Linked DNA regions of Homo sapiens: all the other regions are linked to region 2. The links are contacts of gene promoters, found by promoter capture Hi-C in blood cells and fetal thymus (Javierre and others, 2016). All regions are on one chromosome and are shown on one strand. The core of a region is centred on a gene start or on the middle of the fragment in contact, and the rest is flanking DNA. Distances in the headings are between cores, read along the strand shown.

Region 1 (2,700 bases), core at 39-2,538, 180 kb before region 2:
TCACGTTTCTGCAGGCTGTACAAGAAGCATGGCTCCAGAACTTGGTTGGTTTCCAGTGAGAGCCTCCAGAACTTGCTTGGTTTCCAGTGACAGCCTCAGGAAGCTTTTACTTATAGCAGAAGGCAAGGGGAGCAGGTGTGTCACATGGCAAGAGAGGAAGCAAGAGAGAAGGGAGGGGGTGCCAGGCTTGTTTTTAACAATCAGTGAACTAATAGAGTAAGAACTCCCTCATTACTGTGAGAAAGTCACTAAGCTATTCATGAGTGTCTGCCCCATGACTCAAACACCTCCCGCAAAGGGCGCACCTCCAACACTGGGGATCAAATTTCAACATGAGATTTGGAAGGGACAAACATCCAAACTATATCAGCACATGTGGCCAGTCATGAGTTTTTGTTTTGGCATGTTGCCTCTCATCTGCCAGAATCCCTAGAATCTCATCTGCCAGAATCCCCAGGTAATCATCCTGTCCAAAAGCCTATTGGGTCCTTGCCACATTTCAGTCAATGTGTCTGGTCAAGGGATAAGGTCAAGGTTGGCAGGGAGTCATGTGCTGCCGATCCCTAGTCTGGTTCTTTGTTTAAAACTCCCACCAGCTCCTTTGGTTTCCCTTACCTCAACCACCACCATGTACCCAAATCTATGTGCCAAATAGGTTTTAAAGCCCCCTGATCATAAACCTTAAAAAGTAAGCCTTTCTATGCACATGTTGAACTGCTTCATGTTGAACTGCCCTCCCCACTTCATTTATCCCATCTGATTGCAGTCTGCTTCCCCCTCCTTGCTACTAGCCTGACCGGGTCATTCATCAGTTCTTGTGCTTCTTTCTCTTTAGAGATGTGGTGCTTCTTCTACTCTTCCAGGTTCAACTCTGACTCCCCTCCAACTGTCCTGGGTGAAACCCCCTCCCTTGCTGACTCATCCCCAAGGCCCTCCCACTCCAGGCCACCCTCACAGATGCTTATCTGCCTGGGCTGGTTCTTAAAATCCATAATCAACGGCCAGATAATTTAATCCTACAAAGTGATTGGCAAATGTGACAGTCCAGGTCCTCCCAGGGACAGGTAACAAGACAGGGTTAAACATGTAAGGACTGTATTGGAGAAATGCCTGTGTAAGAGAGAAAATGATGGGAGCTGGGAAGGTTAGGAGGTCATCAGAACATGATAAGAATCTGACTCAAGCGAAGGAGAGAGGGAGAGGAGGTTGGGGGTAGGGGAAACATCACAGACTGCCTGTCATGCAGTCAAAAGAGGGTTCAGCAAAGCCATCGCGGAGTCCTTGAGAAAAAGCTGCTCACCCAGAGGGATCCCTTAGTCTACTTAGTGTCTGCACCAGGCTCTTCCTTGCCAGGAGCTACCCATGGGAGACACAGCCTTGGTACAAACACCACAGTGGATTTCAAAGCCCAGCAGCTGACTCTGCTGTCTGTGGTGGGGGGTCTGGAGGCAATGCTCATGGCCACCATGGTAGGCCACTTCATGCCAGATGGAAAGGTTGTCATGGGGGAGTCTATTCATTTATTCAGCAAATCATGTATGGAGCATCTCTATGCCAGGTGCTGTGCTAAGATTAAAAATCAAGGCCAGTTTTCTATGCCAGGCTACAAAATAGATTTTTCTGGGGTAGCTGCTCACTGATACTCTCATCAACCTCCTGAAAAAAATGTGCATTACTCCAAGGCCACTAGGATTTGCCCTCTCTTTCTTTAACCTCTGTGAAAGACAATCCTGCTTAGGAGTACAGAACATGGGCTATTTGATAGAGTGATACAGCAAGGTGGCTTGCATTGGGATGCAGTGGTTTCAGAGCAATTCCATGTCACTCAGAGGATCCCTGGGAAGTGACTCAGGAACATCCTTTGGAATCAAGAGGAAGCCAGTTGGGTTGGACTCCAGATCTACCAACATCACATTAACCAGAATAATTGTCCATTTAATATTTCATATCCTACAATTACAAATAGAAACTATTTTTTTAAAAGAGCATAACACTTTTAGAATTTTAAAGTCCAATTTGCAATGGAGTCAGATGACTCCTTTCTATTTTCCTAGAACTTAGCACAGTGCCTTACATACATTGGCAGTTAGTAATGTTAATACATAAACAAATTAGTGAATGAATGAAGTTAACCCAGTGAATCTGTTCCCAGAATGGCTCTTTTAGACAGTTACTATGTTTCCATTTTGCTGATCACAACTTGATATTCTCAGAGTTTCTATTAACTGGTCATGACAAGAGATTACCCAGAGTGGATACTGAGCTTCAGATCCAGGACATCTGAGTCCAAACTTAGAGCCCTTTGTACTGCACTCCTCTGTAGAGACTGTGTGTTCTAGAGCCTTCTTCAAAATCCCCCACTATATCCATGCAGTGTCTAACTGCAGGCAATATAAGGTTCTAGCATTTCTATCTTTTCATCATTTCTCCCCATTGGCCATTAGCAACAGCTACTCTCCATTCCCAGATACCAGCAAGCTTAAAAATAATCTCCCCTCTGCCTATTTCCACATTCTTCAGAAGGTTTTTAAATGCTTAGAGGATATGTGCTCTCAGGTATAGGCCTGGAGCAAGGAAACTTCAACTCCCCCTTTGGTTCTCTTTTTATGAAGTTTTCTCTGTACTTAGGAACATGCACCATGCCATAACAGAATTAAAACCTTAGATCTCTGTTTATAAAGATACAAGAGATAACCTAGT
Region 2 (2,700 bases), core at 146-2,645:
ACACTTTAAGGCAGAAAAATAAGAATGCATCTATTCTTTTATTGGTCTACAAATTCATCCACTTCTGAGCTCCCTGGCAGAGACTGGGCTACTCCAAAGCAGACATAATGGAAAAAGCCCACTTAAGAAGTTATCACTTATAAACAAATAAATGAACATATTAAAAGGCTGTATCACCTGAAATTAAGCTTGTAAATGGGTGACATCAGACACCATCATTTGGTTCGAGAATATTAAGAACTATGAGAAACCCTGGAAATAATCAAGGACAACCATCTTATTTTGAAAGTGAGAAAACAGACACAGAGACTTTATCTGATTAAAATCTGACTCTAATTTAGCAATAAGTTATGACTAGCTTCTATGCTCAAGACATTGTTTTGACCATCCTATGATGGCATTAAGATTTTGGAAAGCCAACAAATTCAAAGGACCATTTCCTCCAGTGTGGAGAGTGGATCCCAAAGGCAAAATTAAGCTGGTCAGAACGGGGAGCCCAGCAATCTCGTTGGTCAAGTGTGTGGTCAACATCCACTTCACTAACTCTGGAAACATTCCTTTCAATTAGAGTTCTCATTGCTTGAGAAGAATGAGAGGAAAAGAAAGATAAAAACAAGATTTTTTTCAGTCGTCTAATTTCCATAAATGACATCATAAATTATATATTGCTGTTGCCAAGGAAATATAAGAAATACATAGCAGAAGGAAACAAAGAAATTGATTGCACCATAGACGACTAGTCATATGCTTTGGAGAATCATTCTGCCTTTTGAGATGTTATGATCAGTTCTTTACAGGCACAAAGACATATTAGTTTTCTAAAAATACCCAATCATTTATCCATTCAGCAAAGAACAAAGAAAACAAAATCAGTGCAATTCTCATAACCCTCTTTCTTTGCACAGCACATAGAATGAGGGGCTATTTTCCTGCCATATTTACCAAGAATAGGGACAGTGTTCATTATTCCACAAGACACCATCCTAGGTCCAGAATCTAAAGGCTCTACCTCCAAAACTCTCAAATATAAAATGGCTTTTTTCTCTAAGTTAACAACTAATTTCCAGTCAGTGAGTAATTTTTTTCCTGAAACATTCACTCAGTGGAAAACAAATGAAGAGGGAAAAAATTAAGTAAACAAATCTGAAAAAGAGGCCACAACACACAGAGATGGAGAAGCTCTAAACTTACCACTGAAGGAAAGCAGGCACTTAAAGTTTATCCCAAACAAAACTGTAATTTTAACTGGTCCCCGAGTTGAGCCTCACTCGATGAATGACTTCCAGGGCCTTTGGCTCTTTGGGACTAAACGAGAAAATTATTTTTAGCACAACTATTTGGAAATCTTTGAGAATTTGGATCTGTTATTCTGTCTGGTACCAAAGCAAGTTTTTCACTGAGCTCTCATGAAAGATCCTCAGTCTCTTGTGGATTTAGAATCCTGCAGCAGCCCACCATCTAAGAGCAAGGTATGGTGTTTACTCTTTTTTTTAGAATTTTGGCAAATGTAGATGCAATGGCCTGTTCTCGTGACGGGAGCTTTTTAGCTTATTAAACAGATGGCTCTGTAGGAAGAATCCATAAAACTGAAGACCTAGCTTCAAGTCTCTGGACTGACACTAGCTTTCTAACCATAGACAAGTTGCGGGACTTCTCAGGACCTTGGTTCCCCATCTAACCTACCACAAGATGGTTTTGGGGAGGACGATATGGGCTTAGCATTGCTCTCTAGGATATAAAATGTTTTGCAAATGTCAGGGTTTTTTTTAATCACTGTGCCATAAAGTAGTCAAAACTTTATCAATAATGAACTGTTGACAATAATAAATATTGATGAATTTTTTTTTCTTCATTGAGCCTCTACTGTAGACTAGTCTCTGTCCTAGAGTTTGCATTTTAGTGGGGAAACAAGCAAGTCAATAGATAGCCATAACACAGTGCAATTGTGTGGCCTTGCAGGGACTTGAGTAGTGCCAGGAGGAGAAGGAGGTTAATTCATGGCAAACAGGAAAAGCAGTTCTGCAGAGGAAAATTGGAGCCCCCAAAAGCAAAGAACTGGTGAACAACAACATAAAAGGAACTGAGGCATGAGCAGCTCAGGTCTCCATCCTGTCCCAATCACAGTGCCACTCCCAGTGCAACAAGAGAAACACAGAGCTTGCTGTTGTGAAATCTCCACCTCTGCAGGCCAAGAAAATGTCCCGTTTTGGCTTTTCCTGGTTACCTATTCTCTTCTTAATGATTTCCAGGCAAAGCACATTTTCAACTTGAATTAATTATCAAGTCCAGCCCTTTGTCATGAAGTAATATGTTATAGTTTCCCTCACATGATGTAGGGACAAACTCAAGTGTTTGAAGACAAAAGAACTCAGTACAAATTCTGGCTGCACCATTTCATGCCTGTGTGGACTTGAGCCCACAGAGTATCAATGTTCTTACTTATAAAGTGAAGGTAATAGCACTTACTTCATAACAAGTGGTGTGAGGATAAAGTAAAAGATGTCCTTAAAACACCTGGCACAGAAATAAGAATACTGGGCTCTCCCTGCATTCCAATTCATTTTTATTCAGTTTTTTTAATTATGGTAAAATATACATATCATAAAATTTACCATTTCAACCATTCTTATGTGTACGGTTCTGCAGCATTAAATACATTCATTTTGTTATGCAGTATCATCACCATCTCTCCAGGACTTC
Region 3 (2,700 bases), core at 10-2,509, 200 kb before region 2:
GGAAATCAGTGAAGGAAGAGGTTCAATTTGAAACAGAACAAGGATACACTTTGCTGAGCATTGTGACAAAACTGTCACAACCAATTACCCAATGAATATATGGGCAGCGGGAGATTTAGAGATGATTGGAAAAGGCTTAAACTATCCCATCCTGCCCCACCCTTCAAATCCCTTCAGAGATGGGAAAAGATAAATAACCCTTGCAGTATACAGAATTAGATTTAAGTCTTTTCACTTGAATTTCAAAAGACAACCCACTTCAGCTGATGTATGGGTTCAAAACAAGAGCTCAGCCAAAAGAAAGTAAATTAAATTTTCTTTAAACATGATGTTTGAAGGTTCTCCAAAAGCTTGCAGTTTTTCTCTATTTTCTGAGCTCAGCTGGTGGGAGACACAGGATGGCCTCTATCCAGGATACTCCAAAAGTCTCAATGATTGGATATGACCCCTTGTGTCAGTCAGGTTTCTCTAGACGGACAGAACTAATAGGATATTTGTATATATGAAAGGGAGTTTATGAAGGAGAATTGACTCACCTGATCACAAGGTGAAGTCCCACAATAGGCCGTCTGCAAGCTGGGGAGCGAGGAAGCCAGTGGTGGATCAGTCCAAGTGCCAACACCTCAAAAGTGGACAAGCTGACAGTGCAGCCTTCAGTCTGTGGCCGAAGGCCCAAGAGCCCCTGGCAAACCCCTGGTGTAAGTCCAAGAGTCCAAAAGCCAAAGAACTTGGAGTCTGATGTTGGAGTGCAGGAAGCATCCAGCACGGGAGAAAGATGGAGGCCTGAAGACTCAGCAAATCGGCTTCTTCCACCTTCTTCTGCCTGCTTTTCCTAGCTACGTGGGCAGCCGATGGGATGGTGTCCACCCACATTGTTCGTGGGTGTTCATCTCCCAGTCTACGGATTTAAATGTTAATCTCTTCTGGCCATACCCAGAAACACCCAGATACATCCAGAAACAATACTTTGCATCCTTCAATCCAATCAAGTTGACACTTAATATTAACCATCGCAATCTTATAATCAGAACAATATCACAGGGATGAAAGGAAGAAAGTGAAGTCCTATTTTCTTGGAAAAACTTAGGGTCAAAGCCAGCGAAGCTGGGATCAAAAAAGAGATACAACCCTCAGGCAAGAAACGAAGCAGGAGCTGGAACTGAACAAGAAGCACCTGGGTAATCAGAGCACCTGGAGAGGAAGAGGCTTGGGCTTACATTTGCTGATGTCTGGGAGGTTCCAGCTGACCTGAAGTTCAGGTTAAAGGAAATAGCTGCAATCTATGATGAAATCCCCATCACCCACTAATAAACATCAAGTGTTCCTATGCGGGCCCTCCAATATCAAGTAACAATGTGTGCTAAATACATCAGCCCCCGTACTTCCTTGCTGTTTTGTAGAAAGATTGGTGTACTTTCCTCCTACCAAAGTCATCTTACAGATAAATTAATTCTGCTGTTTTTAAACTGCCTTTATCTCCATGGTCTTGGCATTTACGTGCCACATTTTTTTCGGTTGTATGTTAATGTGATATTTGTCCATTAAAATTCTGAAAGTCTTTAAAATGAGAGGAAGAAAAAACTTCCCGGATGTTCAGCCTAATATACCTTTCTGGGTGATCTCTGCCTTTCATTGTCTTTTAATTTTTTTTTTTTCTTTTGAGCCAGAGTCTTGCTCTGTCACCCAGGCTGCAGTGCAGTGGCACCATCTCAGCTCACTGCAACCTCCTCCTCCCAGGTTCAAGCGATTCTCCTGCCTCCGCCTCCCAAGTGGCTGGGATTACAGGCGTGTGCCACCATGCTCAGCTAATTTTTGTATGTTTAGCGGAGACAGGGTTTCACGATGTTGGCCAGGCTGGTCACGAACTCCTGACCTCAAGTGATCTGCCCGCCTTGGCCTCCCAAAGTGCTGGGATTGAGCCACCATGTGAGCCACCACGCCCAGCCTCATTGTCTTTGAATCCTTCTACTACTCTGTAAATTGTAGAAAGCTGAGTCATGCAAATATTTGTGACCAGATCAATGCAAATGAATTGTGTCCCATAGAATGCAATTGCTCTGTGGATACTTATCAGTTTGTATCTATTAAGAAAATTTATTTCTGCATTCCTGGTTGCCTCAGAGTAGACACTCAAAAATGTTTGTTGACTGAATAAATGATATATGAATGAAGCTTAAAATAGAAACCATAAGAACCCTCCAATTAAAGTGTACCATTCTTATAGGTAAGGTGGGATTCATAGCACACCGCTCATCTTTCAGCTGCCAAGGAGCCTTGTCCACAATGCCTCTAGGCCCTTCAGCCTCTACAGGTTCAGCTACTCACTACTTAATGCTCACTCAAATATAGTCTCAAATGAGGGCACTCCCACTTGCTGTCTTTTTTTCCCCCTCCAGTCCTTGAGATACCATGCATGGGTGGGATCTTTGATCTTCTGCTGAATAAAGGCAGCAGACTACCTAGAAAGGAAACTGCAGAGTTACAATAGGTACACCTCACCATGGAACACTATACATCAATTACAGAGAGAAAAAGAAGACAGAGGGAGAGAGAGAGAGAGAGAGAGAGAAGTGGCAGAAAGATGTGGAACTTATCCAGGATGCCGAACGTTAAAAAAACTCAAATTGCAGAAGAACATGTTAGTATGATCCCATTCTTGTTAAAGCACTCGCATATAAGTTGGTGTATTCATGAAACAAA

Evidence for each region. Contacts are between HindIII fragments. The CHiCAGO score rates a contact against its expected background, and 5 or more counts as called.
Region 1: a fragment that was not itself captured here is called in contact with the fragment with the promoter of C1QTNF7 in region 2 in 4 of 17 cell types (monocytes, M1 macrophages, M0 macrophages and 1 more); the score reaches 7.9 in monocytes.
Region 3: a contact is called between a fragment that was not itself captured here and the fragment with the promoter of C1QTNF7 in region 2, in 2 of 17 cell types (M1 macrophages and M2 macrophages). The highest score is 5.5, in M1 macrophages.

The regions. Positions count from the first base shown.
Region 1 is chr4:15,244,279-15,246,978 of GRCh38, forward strand. All of the region lies in intron 2 of C1QTNF7-AS1 (C1QTNF7 antisense RNA 1), which reads right to left. Among named protein-coding and RNA genes, the nearest start is that of C1QTNF7-AS1, 180 kb to the right of the region's middle. The HindIII fragment of the contact is 2,375 bases long and covers 102-2,476 here.
Region 2 is chr4:15,426,638-15,429,337 of GRCh38, forward strand. C1QTNF7 (C1q and TNF related 7) reads left to right here and starts at 1,396. Exons shown (of 3, transcript NM_031911.5): 1 at 1,396-1,469. It overlaps C1QTNF7-AS1 (C1QTNF7 antisense RNA 1), which reads right to left and starts at 1,277. Exons shown (of 6, transcript NR_125911.1): 1 at 1,192-1,277. The HindIII fragment of the contact is 5,402 bases long and covers 187-2,700 here.
Region 3 is chr4:15,227,312-15,230,011 of GRCh38, forward strand. The region is part of intron 2 of C1QTNF7-AS1 (C1QTNF7 antisense RNA 1); the gene reads right to left. Among named protein-coding and RNA genes, the nearest start is that of C1QTNF7-AS1, 200 kb to the right of the region's middle. The HindIII fragment of the contact is 1,822 bases long and covers 349-2,170 here.